Regions from separate parts of the Homo sapiens genome. Here region 2 is linked to region 1. The links are contacts of gene promoters, found by promoter capture Hi-C in human tissues and cell types (Jung and others, 2019). All regions are on one chromosome and are shown on one strand. The core of a region is centred on a gene start or on the middle of the fragment in contact, and the rest is flanking DNA. Distances in the headings are between cores, read along the strand shown. Region 1 holds the start of PTPRD (protein tyrosine phosphatase receptor type D). Region 2 has its middle 83 kb from the start of PTPRD-DT.

What was found. The method cuts DNA at HindIII sites, captures the fragments that hold promoters and counts their contacts. A contact is called where the count stands out against the background at its distance.
Region 2: a fragment that was not itself captured here is called in contact with the fragment with the promoter of PTPRD in region 1 in 2 of the 25 tissues and cell types used here (heart left ventricle and spleen).

What each region holds. Positions count from the first base shown.
Region 1 is chr9:10,609,873-10,617,647 of GRCh38, forward strand. It overlaps PTPRD (protein tyrosine phosphatase receptor type D), which reads right to left and starts at 3,130. Exons shown (of 46, transcript NM_002839.4): 1 at 2,816-3,130; 2 at 2,526-2,633. It overlaps PTPRD-DT (PTPRD divergent transcript), which reads left to right and starts at 3,334. Exons shown (of 3, transcript NR_110696.1): 1 at 3,334-3,554; 2 at 6,745-6,797. RefSeq lists a silencer at 3,075-3,284. The HindIII fragment of the contact is 2,966 bases long and covers 1,279-4,244 here.
Region 2 is chr9:10,692,754-10,700,528 of GRCh38, forward strand. No RefSeq gene overlaps it. Among named protein-coding and RNA genes, the nearest start is that of PTPRD-DT, 83 kb to the left of the region's middle. The HindIII fragment of the contact is 8,629 bases long and covers 4-7,775 here.

The DNA of each region.
Region 1 (7,775 bases), core at 1,880-4,379:
TTTTATGTTAATATTAAAAGAAAAGAAAAACATGTTTGCCTTCACCAACAGCAACTGAAAGCAAATGCAGGTATACAGCACTTTATTAGAAAGAACCCCTTTAGTAAGCACATGTAAGAGGAATTAATCATTCATTCCCTGCAGACTGCTTATGTATTTCATCGGGCCATTATCTGATCTGAATAACAAGAACAATTGCATAATAAAACACATTACTGCTGACACTAGCAACTTTCTTCTCAACTTTAAAGTTGCAACTACCTCTGTACAGGACAGAGAGCTGGTGGCCAAAAAGGTGACAATTTAATCACCCATCCTGCTTTGCCATTTTTATCTGTTATTATATAGAGACAGGGATCAAATGCATGTGCAAGCTTTACTAGAAACAGCTTTCATTCAGGCTATTTTCCTTAGCACTATGACATAATTACAACAGAGGCAGAATGTATGTCAGGTTAGTTTTAATGTTACTTACAAATATTTGCTTTCAGAAATTCAAAAAGAATGCACAAATCTGTCATGTCTTCTCTACTGTGTAAAATATGTCCTATACTAATATATGTAATAACATGTTTGAACCACTGTTAAATTTGCCCTACTTAGGTACAATCTTCCCCTTTATTTTTCAATAATTAAGTTTTTTTTTTTCCAAATATCAGATAGCCTCTCGGACATGTGAGGTCAGAAATGAGTAGAGGTTATGTGCTATAATCCAAATCTGATCAGCCAAGGGCTTCATTTTAAATCACTTAAATTCATTTTTAAACCAATAATAGAAATGTTAGCTAAGAGCAGTAATATGTCTAAGAAAACTCATTTGGATAAGAAATTAAATAATAATCAAGAAACAATGACACATCTTTCTCAAATGATTCCATATATGATAACTTCATGTCAACCAATTCATTAACTGTTCTATTGTCCTGTCTCATTACCCTAAAAACTTATGGCCCAAGATATTTAGAGCTTTCAACACTGAGTAATCAAAACAACTCTAAAACATCTCTACTTTTTTGTAATAATTGTAACTTAGCTTACTCTTATAATTTCTAAAACCAATCCCCCATGAATACAGATGCTTTTATATACTCACTTAAGTAAATAAGGAGGTAAAAATATACTCATTCTACCATTATCAACAATTAAATACAAGGAAGCCCTTAGGTATAATTAATAATAAGCTGCTTTATTGAAAGAAATTCTCTGAGATAAGTACTTTTACTTTTCAATCTGGTTTTTAACTTATAAGGGGTTTTTATTAAAAAGTATGTATTATACTGAGAAAGAAATTAACAGTTAAAGATAAAAGGGATAAACTTTTTCTAATCACTATTAGACTCTAGTCAGTATAAGTACTACCATGTCAAAAAACTTAGGATTTGTTAAAAATCAGGTCTGTTTTGTCTAAGTTGCAACTCCTACTGTATCTACTGTATATGTAACAATGCAAGAAGAATTAGATTCAGAATCCATTTGGCAGTGATAAAGAAAAAAATGCTGAAATGTTATTGATTCTCTCCCTCTTGTGCAAAACAAACTGAGTCAACTATATTTTTCCTGACATAACACAAAGGTTTTATTTAGATATTACAAAATATTGGCAAATGTTAGACTACATGTTTTTTATATATATGTATAATGAACTTATTAACCCTTTTGTAGAAAGAAGAGTGTCCTACTTCTGTAAAAAGAAATGCTACAGCTACTGACATGGTGATGTTAGCCCCAAGAGGAATACTGCCTGCAAAAGTTTTTGATGCAGAGATATTCAGCCTTAGGAGACACCTTAAACCTGTCACTGGCTGCTGAGCCCTGTCAGAGTTTATAACCCGCTGTGTCAAAGTCACAGTCTCAGCCCTGCCCTCTCCAAAGTATTTTTCACATTCTCTCTCCAAATTAAGTTCATTCTAATTCTCCAACTATTCTAGTTCCAGGATTTTCCTCCAATTATTATCTCCTTACAGGCATGAAGAAATCGCAACAGAATTTTCATCTGGTCTTTCAAACCATCCTTATTAACTTTCCCTTTTCCGCCCCCCCCCCCTTTTTTTTTCTAGAGCTTTTCAGAACTAAAGATAAAACAACCAACCAACTGAAGTCAGAGTAGGGTGGGAGTTAGCATGGATTAGGGCTGAGGTTGAAGGTGGCAGGAGAAGTGAGCCAGTAGGGTTAGATTTTTCAAGCTTTTTCTAGATAACCACCCTTAAATCTTAGAACCAACCAATGTTTAACAAAGCAGGCTTCCAATAGCCCTTGAACAATAAACGTTTAAAAATCAGTTTTCCAGTAAGGCTGCCCATACTGATCCCATATCGAAGTCTTCTAAGGGCTCTTCCAAAAAAAAAAAAAAAAGAAAAAAATGCTTAGCGAACCACTTCTCAAATAGGAGCTACTGAAGTTATATAAGTCAAGTTATTCCCAGGTAAAATGAATAAACTGTCCACAGCATTGGACATTGGGCATTGAAAAGCATCAGCATATGCTTCACTTTAGAGAAAAGAAAGACAGAAGCACAGTTTACTTACTAAAGCAGCCGCTCCAGTCCTCCTTGGAAACCCTGAGGAGTCTTCTCTTTTCTTTCCTACCAGTCAAATAAAGAATTGTCTTTCTATTCCACACAGGCCCAGAATAAACTGCAAAAAGGGATGGCACATGCACAGCAGCCCGTCAGGGTTTGGCTTTGGTGGGGTGCTTCGATTTCTGATTGTTTCAAAAGTGGGATCTTCTTTTCCGGAGGGAGGGGGCAAAGGAAGAAAAAGAAAGCGCGCTCGGAAAGCCGGCTTGGGTCCTGCTAATTATTCTGAAGGCAAAGTACCTGCACTCTCCCCGCCGAGGCTGGCTGGCGGCGCCGCGCCGGAGGGGAGGAGGCTCGGGAGGAGGAGGAGAAAGAGCAGCGGGAGGACTCGGGCTGGGAGGGGAGCGCAGGGTTGGGGAGGCCGATGAGCGGCTCCCGGCTCCTCGGAGAAGCAGCCGAGACGGCAAGGAGGAGGCGAGGCTCTGTCGGGGCGAGGCGCTGCCCCCACGCGCTCCGGCCGCCGGCTGCGGGCGCGGCTGGGCGGGGAGCCGAGGCGGCCGCTCCCGCACTCGCTCGCTCGCTCGCTGGCGCTCCCTCCTCGTCTCGCTCGCACTCACAGGCACACACCCCACGTCTCCAGCAGCTGCCGCTCGGCCTCACGCACTCACCTGCATTTCCTTAACGAGCCACTTGATGGCTGCCAGCGGCGTGGGCCCCGCTCCGGCGGGCGGGGGCCGGGGCGGGGAGAACGCGGCGCGGGATGCTCCGAGCGCCCGCTGGGGAGAGAAGCGGCGGCGGCGGCGGCGCTGCGGGCGCGCCAGATGGGGCGGGAGGAGGGGAGACCCGGCACCCACCGGCCCAGAGCTGCCTGACGCGGCCTGGGCGGACCCCGCCGCCCGGGTGCCTAGGCACGATTCCAGGGATCCAGGGTAAAGCGGTTCGCGCGGGAACAGGAGGATATGTCAGGCACAGGCTATTCCCCATCACTATAGCCACAGAGGACTGGTCCAGATGCGGATCCCGATCTGTGCTTCTTCAGGTGTTCGCGTGCTTTCGGTTATTATTATTATTATTATTTTCCGAGGGAGGCTGTCGGTAACACCTAAGGGGTAGTGGGTGTTAATAGCTGGGGGACGTACATTTGATTTGCAATGGAATCGATGCTTATGAAGAGCAGACTTAGGGAGGTGAAGGGCAGGGGCACAGGGGTTGCTTGGCGGAGGGGGTGTACTTCGGCTGAGCTGGATGGAGTTTTCAGTCGGGGCGCTTGGCAGTCTGGCTGGGCTTGAGGGAGGGATAGAGCTCTGCCAAGGTGGTAGCTGAGAAGGGAAAACCTGTACAAGAGTTGCTGAGAATATGCCTCGCTGCAGAGGAGAGGACATGGATGCAGGGAGCGGATTCTTCCCCACCTCCTCCTTACCCCAAGGTAGAGTGGGGTATCGGAGTGCATCAGATGTGGTGTACCACAGACTCGGGAGACAGGGGAGGAGGAACTTAGACCCCCAGCGAAACTAGAAATAAGGTTTGGAGCTGGGGGGAGAAGAAGGGGCAGGATGAGAGAAAAACAGCAGGAAGCTTTTTGTCATTTTACTATCTTTCATGTCTCATCAGAGCATACAGCTATAGGCAACAAATGCTCTGTCTCTTGATAAACAGAGAGCAATGTCACCATGTCGGTGCGTTTTCTAAAAAGCCAAAATAATTATCCTGTTTGTAATATGCAACACAGAGCATTCCAGGTACCATCTGGTCAAAGGTTCTGTAAGCACTGTAGAAGAAAACAAATAAAAAAAGAACAACGAAAAACCAGTTATCCATCTACTTTCCTTATATGTCAATGATCTAATCGCAGAAATGTCACTTTCTCCCGAAGAGAAATAAAGCTTAGTCACTATAGGTGGAATTTTCCCCAGGGTCCCTTCACCTTTTTCTTTTCATACCTTCTCCACTGCTTGCTGTGTCCCTTTGCTCTTTAAAAGGGACCCTTCTCCTGAACCCACGCGCTGCCGGGTTCCCTGCTCAGCCTCCCTAAAGCCACGGAGCCTACCCATCCAAGAAGGTTCCCATGCACAAACAGTCATCATCACTTAAAAAGGTTCTTGGAAATGACAAGATATGAACGAAAAAAAATTACACCATATGTGCAAGTGTGTGTGCATGTGTACATATTTTTGTAATTATACAAAGCACTTGCCCCTCTTACGGTGCTGTCTCCCCAAGATGATGATGACTGACTCATATTCTCTCTCTCTCCCTCCCTCCTTCTCCCTTTCTGCACAAATACACACCACTCACTCCTGTCTCAGTTCCTTCCTGTCAGTGTTCAATAATGGTTTTACATGAACTTTCTGTTAGGCAGCCTCTGACTACCAAGGGCGAGTTGGAGTGGATTGGTAGGAGGGAGGCTGGTCTCAATGATGCCGCTCTGTTTCCTGCCATCCCTCAGTCATTACATACACTACTGTACTTAATGCCAAGTAGAAGCAGAAATGATTTCCTCTCTTGCTAGTCACAATAATATATTTGTCCTCCCTCAGAAACACAAGTAATTAATAATAAAAGAAATAATGCATCTTGAAACCATGGGAAGAGCAGATGGAGGCTGATGTGGTTGTGTTAGTCACCTTTTCTGTTGTTGTTGTTGCAAAGACAACGTGACCACCTCTCCCTTTCTACTGCTTCTGGTGGGTTAAGCAAAGCATTTGGCCCTTTTACTGTATTCTCTTTTCCATCTTTCCCTTGACAATAGTTTGTGTGTTTTAAGTAAAGATTTCATTCTGCCAACCCGCAGGAAGCTTTTAACAAGATGCAGCTGAGCGTGTCGATATCTTATATCTTTTTACTGCTGCATGGGGGTGTTCAGCAACTTGAAACTCTTCTCTACTTCAGCTCCAGGCTGGGATCTCACAGAGACAGTGCTCCCTGGGGCTGATTTACTCTTGCTCCTGTACAACTATCCTTTGGTGTCCTCTGGAAAACAAAGAATATTTTAAACAATGGAAGAATCAGTGTTATACTCAATCCCCTTCCTCCTACCTCCTCCCCACATAATAATATCACAAATGTTCAATGGATTAGCTTATTGTAGAGATTTTATTATTAATTACATCTGAGAATTGGATTGAGATATCTTACTTGAAGGTGATTGCACCAAGCTTAAGGAGTTAAGAAAATTTTATTATCTAACTACCTAGCTACACTTCCTGTAACATTATAATTTATTTCTCCTTCTTCAATAAAAAGGCAGATGCAAATGTCCGCTTTAAGTTATTGCCATATATTTACTCTTAAAAATCAGTAACCTATCTGAATTGGTTGTTGTCAGTGGACCACGTGTTTAAAACAACCATAACAAATGTAAGATAAAAATAACCAAAAAGGGACAGTGAAATTGGGCCAACAAAGCATGGTCCTGAATATCAGTTGCTTTGAGGTTCCCTTTATTTTAACACATTTCTTTATTTATCAAATCTACATTTAGCTTTGTTATATATAGGCTTATAATTAATTTTAACAGCCTGCTGTAAGGAGAAGAAATCTCAAAATTTACATTTGTATTTTGGATTTTTGAGGGAAATAAGTAATTTCCTTCCTGACTCAGTTTTTAAATTAGAATTTGCAATACATAAATAGCAACTACACAGCAATAATTTCCTGTTCTAGTATGTTATTTAAATGTTTTGAGAGCATCATGAGGAAATTTCCTAATTATACAGCACTCCATATTGTGGAATTGAATAAAGAGATAATTCCATATTGTGGAATTGAATAAAGAGATAATTCCATAGTGTGGAATGGAATAAAGAGATAAAAGGGTAATAAGGAAGCCAGGGAGAGCAAGTAACCTGTTGGAAAGGAGACAAGGATCTAGGAGGTGTTCGAAGCCCAATCTGTAGGTAGGTTGGATTTGTCAGCAGTAGACTCTCACACTTTGACTATTGTTTGTTTGTTTGCTTTGCCTCAGTCTGCAGTAATGGTGTTCACTTAATTTATTCTCCCTTTTCTCCACTTTTCGTTCTAAAGTTATGCCACTTGGCAGAAACTACAAGTAGAAACAATTTTATATTGATAACATAAAATCATGCAGAAAACCATGTACTTAATGAATCAAACTGCTCATACTTATTTCATGTGGGAAAAGATAATCTCCTGCTCTTTAACTTTTATTTAGTCAATGGAAGTACAATTTCAATTGACTAAATGGGTATAATTTACCCAATTTCTTATAGATGGTTGGATACCAAGAAAGCTGCTCAGGAAACCTTACAACACAATGGAAAAAGTGAGTTGACTATATAATTATTCAATGAGTTGTCTATATAATTATCCAATTTAAGGAGTCTTAATGAAGTCATATTTGAGATGGTTGTAGGTACAAGGTATAGATGTCATTCCACTGAAATCATGATGTAGCTAATGCTAAATTACACACAATCTAAAGGCTTCAGGTTTTGACATAATGTACACATTTATTTTCTCACTTATTGTGCTGGTAGCTTTCTATCCCTGCCCCTCTATTTAATCCCAACCTCAGACCCCTCATGTGCTCTTTTCTGTGCTCTATGGATTAATCTTTAGGTATTGTACTAACCTGGTTTCCCTTGTCCCCTGGTTTCTGTTTGGGTTTTGTCAATGAGAGGCACCAGAAAGGGGCAGGAGGAGAGAAAAAGCAGGGCCATGTTTCCCCCATTTGCAGCATAACTTGGCACTGTGGTTCTTTCTGGCAGTGGCTACACAGTCTTTTCTTGTCACCACCTTTCCATAGCTCTACCTCATATTTTCCCCCAATATCCCCATTGTATCTGTTGCTCCTTCAGCTTTCCACTATGGCTAGCAATTAAAATAGCCAGTATCCCTCATGGGATCCCATAACACAGCTACCCTTCTAGAAAGTATCCCTTATCGAAATTCTCTTTAAAATGATTCCTGATTGTGCCTTCCATTTCCTCCTGATACTCTGAATCATCCATTTCTGTTTTTTAAATTCATAGTATTCAAAGATATAATTTTTATTCAATTGTCCTAGGTTTAACAAATATATTGTCTAATGTGTAGAGAAGTGCCAAAACATTATTATTACTCAAAATGAAAATAACTGTAACATACCACAAGAAAATGTTTGATGGTACAGCTGTGATGGTAAAGTTCATGTGTCAACTTCAGTGGACTAAGAGATGCCCAGATAAATAGAGAAGCATTATTTCTGGGTAAGTCTGCAAAGGTATATTTGGAAGACAGTAGTATTTGAATCAGTAGACTG
Region 2 (7,775 bases), core at 3,068-5,567, 84 kb after region 1:
AAGTTAAAAACAACAACATATATAAGCCAACAAATTTTAACTTGTCCCTCTTTTCTCACTTTTGTTTCTCTGTAATCCAGTAGGAAAATATTATAACTTTGTGCCTGGAAAAATGTTCAACATTCAAGAGAACTCATCCAGTGATTTGAACTGATAGAAAAATGAATTAAGACAGGATTCTGGCTGGGCGCGGTGGCTCACGCCTATAATCCCAGCACTTTGGGAGGCCGAGGCGGGTGGATCATGAGGTCAGGAGATGGAGACCAACCTGGCTAACACGGTGAAACCCCGTCTCTACTAAATATATATAAAAAAAAAATTAGCCGGGCATGGTGGCAGGTGCCTGTAGTCCCAGCTGCTTGGGAGGCTGAGGCAGGAGAATGGCGTGAACCCGGGAGGCGGAGCTTGCAGTGAGCCGAGATGGCGCCACCGCACTCCAGCCTGGGCGACAGTGTGAGACTCCGTCTCAAAAAAAAAAAAAAAAAAGAGACAGGATTCCATGCTCTTGAATATAGTGCCAAAGCATTGCTGATTCTTGATCATTCCCATGAGTGCTCTGAAACTAGTTAATTTGTGCTTTCCATGTCACTGTAATTACAATGTTTTGTTTAAATGTATAGTGTTATATAGTGATTGGCTAAATTATCATTTGACCTTGCGTATTTATGTTTATGTTAAATAGTGTACAATGAATATCCAATGAAAATAATATGGATATATCATACTAATGGCCAGGAAATTTTTTTTCTTCTTGGCTTTAATTCTTTTGACTACCTTACAAATAATAGCAATAACAGATTATATTTACTTAAATTTAGTTGAAAGGAGAATTAGATCTATTATTTTTGCCGGTCTGAGCTGGAGACCATGAGTTCCTATTAGATTGACCCATGGGTCATATACATTATATTAGATACACATATTTCTTGCCTCACTGGAACGCAATAAAATTCAAATAGCATAGAACTATATAGGCTTTGTAAAGTTTCATTTAATTTCATATAAAAACTAGGCTTACTGGGTATATGCTAATAATTCTCAAATGAATATGCATTACCAATTATTTTTAACAACCATGAATATCCTAATAGTAGTTTAAATGTGTGCATTGTTTTACTGTATATATTGATTGTAGAGGATCATTCTTTGATCCTCATGATAGCCTCAAGTCATGCAGAATTAAGCTTTTTTTAGGTGTTTATGTGTGGCAAAACTAGTAAGACCCCCATCCAACTCATTAAATCTTCTGTACCCATACAAAAACTATAAATCTCAGCCTTACTTGCAGTTATTTTTGTAATTTAGGCCATGTAACTGGGTTTTAGCTAATGCAATGGAGTAGAAGGGTGTTCTATGCCTAGACATAAGGCTTGGTCTGTCATCCTCCATAATCTCTTTTAGTTGAAAGAGCATGGGAGTTATGCTGAAAATAGTGATGTTATAAATAGAAATAGCCTAGATTTTTGAGTCATTTTTTGGAAGAATCCAAGAGAACCTATGGTACACATTGGAATTTGAATGGATAACAAACTAATTTTTGTCGAATGAAGTCACTGAGTTTTATAGTTTAGTTAGTACTACACCAGCATTCAGCCTACCTATCTGATATATCATGCTGTTTTGGTTACTGTAGCCCTTTAGTATAGTTTGAACTTCAGTAAGCATGATGCTTCCAGCTTTGCTCTTTTTGCTTAGGATTGCCTTGGCTATTTGGGCTCTTTCTTTGGTTCCATATCAACTTTAAAATAGGTTTTTTCTTGTTCTGTGAAGAATGTCAATAGTAGTTTGTGTAGAATAGCATTGAATCTATAAATCGCTTTAAGGAGTATAGACATTTTAACGACATTGAGTCTTTCTGTCCAAGAGCATGGAATGTTTTTCCATTTGTTTGTATCATCTCTGATTTTTTTTAGTAGTAGTTTATAGTTGTCGTTGTAGAGATCATTCACCTCCCTTGTTATCTGTATTCCTAGGTATTTTATTCTTTTTTTGTGGCAATTATGAATGAGAGTTTGTTCCTGACTGGACTCTCAGCCTGACTCTTTTTGGTAAATGGGAATGCGAGTGATTTTTGCACATTGATTTGTATCCTGAGATGTTGCTGAAGTGGTTTATTGGCTTAAGAAGCTTTGGGGCTGAGACGATGGGGTTTTCTAGATATAGGATTATGTCATCTGCAAACAGGGATAGTTTGACTTCCTCTCTTCCTATTTGGATGCTCTTTACTTCTTTTTCTTGCCCGATTGTTCTGGCCAGGACTTCCAATACTATGTTGAATAGAAGTGGTGACAGAGGGCATCCTTGTCTTGTACTTGTTTTCAAGGGGAATGCTTCCAACTTTTCCCTATTTAGCATGATGTTGGCTGTAGGTTTGTCATATGTGGCTGTTATTATTTTGAGGTATGTTTCTAAACCCTCATGACACAGGTTTACCTATGTAACAAACCTGTGCATGTACTCCTGAACTTAAAAGGTTTTTGTTTGTTTGTTTTAAAAAAAGAAGTTAGGGACTGGATAAGAGGAAACTGAAATCAGAAGCTAGAAAGTAGGTGAATCGAGTCATGCAGTGGCAAAAAACCTTGATTATCTGTGGTATATTTGAAAGCAAACTGTGGACCTATTAAGCTTGTGGCTCTTAAGGAAAAAAGTTGGAATTCATTATCTTAGCACACTTTCTTGTTTGTTATTGGTATAAATAGATAAGAAATTATAAGCAATAATGAGTTTACGGTAGAATTTAAAAGATCATGAGCAAATTGCAGTGTTGGAAAAGCTAACTGCTGCTATATGCCAAACAATAAAAAATTAATTTAAGATATATACATTTTTCCATTATCCCAGTAAAAATTTTCAGTTGTTTAAAGTGACCCAGGGATAATGTCAGCATAAGGTAGATAGCCACTATTAAATTGAGTGAGACAGATGTGACAGTGAGAAAGTAGAACAATATAAGCAGATTTGAAAACTATGTCTATTAAAAGAACTTAAGTTTGGAACAGACAAGAACCAAATATATTTGACACCTACAAAGTTTTGAGGAAAATAGGGACCGTAAAAAAGTTAAGATATGTTAATACTTAGAACTCTTAAGAGTTCATCCTTCATGAGCAATAGGCACATTTCAAAAGCCTCTAGCTCTCCAGGAGTTCAGGCTCTTCCAAAACCACTTTAAATGATAAAATGAATAATGAACTAGGAGGAACTTTCCAGGATGTGGAGCCAGGACCAAGAAAAACTATGGACAAGACAGCTTGTCTCATACAGTGGATTTAGAGATTGATTAAAAAAAAATCAAATAACTCCCCGACACTTCTAGGGTATAGGGGTTTCACAATATCAGCTCACTGGTGTTTCAGAATTACTAGAGACCAATGACTATAAGGTCTCCTCTTAATTCCCTTTCCAAATTGAAGTACTTATTCTGGATATCCAGGCTCTCTGCATAGTGTGTGAATTTATCTGTCTGTAGTCAGGTGACTAAACTTTCTGTTCAAGGGGCATGATCATTTAGACTTCTAGGAGAATATACAGGTTTTCAGGATCTATGGTCAGGGCTGTGTATGACTTAAAGATCATGGAGTTTAAACTGGATTTAATAACTGGGTGAGTCTCTGTGTTGTGCTCCTTAGGAAAAAATAAATTGTGTTCTATGGGTAGGAAAAAAAGAGAAACAGATATTTGGTGAACATAAAAGGGAATTATAGCAGAGACACTACATTACCAACTGCTCTAGCTAGTGTGGGACCATATAACTGGATAGTGGCAATGTGACCACTATCTTTAGTGTGGGAACAAGTGATATGTACTATTTCTAGGCCTGACCATGAACTTCCTTGCACAGTCATTCACACTGCCTTTCACTTTTGGGACAAGCAGAAAGGCTACATAAAAGATGGTGGAGTAAATTGCCAGTAACCTGGTTCACTCTATTACTGCCTGGAGGATGGTCACCAAGAAAAACTCCCTACCTGAAAAGGATTCTGTATCCAAGAAGATAAGTAAGTTTTATTGCTTAAATTTACTAAGATTTGGGTGTCTATTTGTTACTTGAACACAGCATAGCCTGTCCTATCTAATAAAATATGTTTCACTCAGCTAACAGATGTAGCAATGTTTCATACAATTTTGTGCATCAAGCACTTAGCACAGTTCATAGTACAAAGTAAGAACAAACAATTTCTATTCAGTGGGTATTTGTTTATGTAATGAGTTAGATTAGAAGTTCAGACAGATAATATTTTACAGATGAGGAAACAAAGATCACCCATATGCAGTGAATTGAATTATTGTTCCCAATTCTTCACCTCCCAGCAGCAAGGTTATAAATGAACCACCTTTAACTTGCATTTTTTTTTTTTTTTTTTTTTTAGTGTGGTGTCTCTGTGGGGTCACAATGTATTTGCCTATCCCATTGATATTGGGCTTGCCAGGTGACTTGCTTTAGCCAATAGGATGAGTGTGTAAGTTACACCATGCTAATTCTCAGTTAAAGAGTTAAGAAGTGTTCCGGTTTCCGCTTGCCTCTCAGGCAGGGCTTCTTTCAGGTCATAAAAATAGTGCACCCAGGGAGCTGCTAGTTTCAGAAGGAGATGTGAGAAAACAAGAATCCACCTGAAGACTGGAGCCCAGCTCAGCCGAACCATTGTAATCCAGCTAAGATTGCTAAAACCTCAGGAATTCACAGACCTGAGAGCTATAAAAAGGAAAATAAATAAAAATAAGGTTGTAGGAGAGAGAGATTTTAAGGTTGTTTGCTACACAACAAAAAGTGACTACTACAATGAATTTAATAGCTGGAAATTGAATTTAGCCTTTCACTATACAATGGGAAAGATTCATTTTAAATTTAAACAGTAATTCTTCTATTTAGTTCCTACTAAATGTTTAAGTTGGAATGCATCTTTAGTCTTTAAACTGTTTTATTTTTATTTCTTGATATTTATTTCACTCTGTAATTTACCATTAAAAAAGGACTTTTAACTTTTAAAAAGTCATCACTCAAAAGAAATTTGTTTCCCCAATTACAAAAATTAACAAGATAAAGAAACATAAATTAAAAATTTAAAAATGGCCATTTTAAAGATTGCTACTTTTCTCCTCTTATGAAAATATTCAACTCTAATGGATTTTGTTAATATCTCTCAGGTCCTCTATGGCATTTAAGAAATAACATTCACTGGAGTTTATACAATATAACTATGCAATTACTTTCCGCATCTTCGATGTGTAATGTGGGGAAATGCTCATTTATGGTTTTTTTTTTTTAGGCTAGCCCCATATATTTAACAGCAAACAGTTTACTAGCAAAACCAAGATGCCTCCTAATTACCTGAATTTATTTTTAGCACTTTCTCCATTAACTATGCATTAGAAAAATGTTTTTATAACTTATCCCATTAAGTATCATTATCAATATTGTGCTGTCATATCTTCCATGACCCTCCTTTCTGTGTGGGCTTCCCTGTTTATTTTATAGTAAATCTTTTAAAATGCAAATTTTATTCCCTCTTTCCCTGTGAGCTAGATTTAAGACCTCTTCCCTGAAGTGACCGTTCCTTCTTTCACTTTAGTCAAAAACTGATAACAGTCTTGGCAGTAGGAATGAATTTACTACTCAATTAAAGTTACTAGAAAATTCGGGCAAAAGTACTATACTGGTTGGACAGTTAGACACTACCTCTGTGGCATTAAATTTAGTATTTTATGTACTGGAACTAAGACTAGGAGAGATTACATTCTAAATTGCACATACAGAACATCTTGGTATAATATACATGGTTTATTGGTATAAAACAATGCATTATTACTGGAAGTGTTAGATAAATTTTAAATGTATGTGAAATTGCCAATCAGCATTTTTCCAGTTCTATTTTCTACTATATATTTACTAATTGCTTTATAATAATTAAGAAAAGAGAAAAATACTTACGAAGACAAGATAGAATACATTAAATGGTAGAATTTCAATATTTGTAATTTGTTTTTATTATTTGTTCCTGTATTTTTCTATTTAAATCCTTTATCTTAGCAAATACAGGTGCAAAATGATAGTCATAACACGTACAACATTTAAAATAAAATATATGTCTTATGAGGAAAAAATAATCTTTCCATTCTTGTCTTCGTAAGCCTATATTTAACTTAATGTGAAAGCAGGAGGAGAGTTTCATTGTTTGGGCTTTTGAAAATGAAAGTCAGATAATAGTTTTCAAGTTTATTCATCAGGAAACTTATCACATTTTAACAAGTCTTCCATTTAGAAAAATCTTTTTATTTTTCTTTTGGACATTCACTGGTGACTTAGCATGACAAATTTTATTCATTCTAAAATAGTACAGGAAAATCTGATGTTATCACTTAGAATATTAAATACTATATTGTAAGTTTAGGTTAAAATGAATAGTGTCAAAGGCAGTTCAACCTCAAAGGAAGAAACAGAAAATAGGATAACATGATCCTAAATTTTTACCTGACCTGATTTTATCAATACGTGTTACTCTATGCAACAAAGTTTTTGTGGCCAATGACCTTATATTACTTCTGTATCTTTAGTGCAGTTGTTCTTAACCTTGGCACTACTGACATTTGGAACTGAATAATTCTTTTGTGGGAGGTTGTCTTGTTCATTTCAGGATGCTTAAAAGCGTCCTCAGCCTCTACCCATATAAATATCCTTGACTCAATGCATAGAAAGCATTCTAGATGATAGTACCTTATTCTTGCCTGATATTGCCTCCAAGATGATGCTTTAGATTTTCTTTCAGCAGGACTTCCTTACGCACTGTCAGATCAGCAGCAGTGGGGTGATGTATTCTGTGTTACAGCCAGTGGATCCTGATTAGATGCTTTTTGGGAATTACCTGGCTGTCAATAAGGCATTCTGTAAGCACCTGCATAGTGGTGCTGGCTGAGGCCCAGAAAGAAGAAAAAGCAAACTCCCACTCTGAATAGGTACCTATTCCTTTGTAAATGAACCACATGAAACCTGTAGTATAAAAGGGCCCAATATAGTCAACTTGGAACTAGGTAGCCATTTGGTCTACCTAATAATGTCATACTATTACTTATTGTATGTAAGCATTGGTCTGTATTGTTGGAATTGGGGAAATTCACAGGTGGTGGTAACAGTAGTTTAGCTCAGGTAAGTAGAATGCATACTTCTGGGTGCATGCCTGACTTCTGTCCTTGTTATCATAGCCTAGTCTTTAATGTATGCATAATGATAGTATTGTGGTGGCTGCTGGCATTTCTGTATCAACTAACATGAACTGGTTGAGCATTACTTTCACTTGGAAGTTTGATGCCTCTTCCCTGGTGTGTGTATTCTGGTAGGCATTCTTACTTCATGCCTAATACCCTATGTCCAAACATATACCTTTACCCTAGACTTCCTTGAGTAAATCTTTTAATCATTTTCTTCCCAAGTCCATCATCAACTAATCCAGCCATTTTCACTGCCCATTAGTCTGCATATGTTATAACCTTAGGTCAATTCTCCTTCCACATAGAGTAAATGTCCAAGTGCTCCTGTCTTATGAGAGTCTTTGAAGCCTAACCTTGAGTGAAGCCACCATTCCTTTCTGGCTAGCTTCCACATAATAAGCAAAACCACATGTAAAATATGCTTGGGCTTTTTCCTTATCTTGTAGCTGTTTTTAAGTGATTCACCCAAAGGGTCTGTTGAGCCCACTGAACTTTCTGACTCAGTGCATCTGACAGTACCAGACTCATCATGGGAAGTTACAGGCAGTCAAGATTCAAACCTTCTGCTTCTA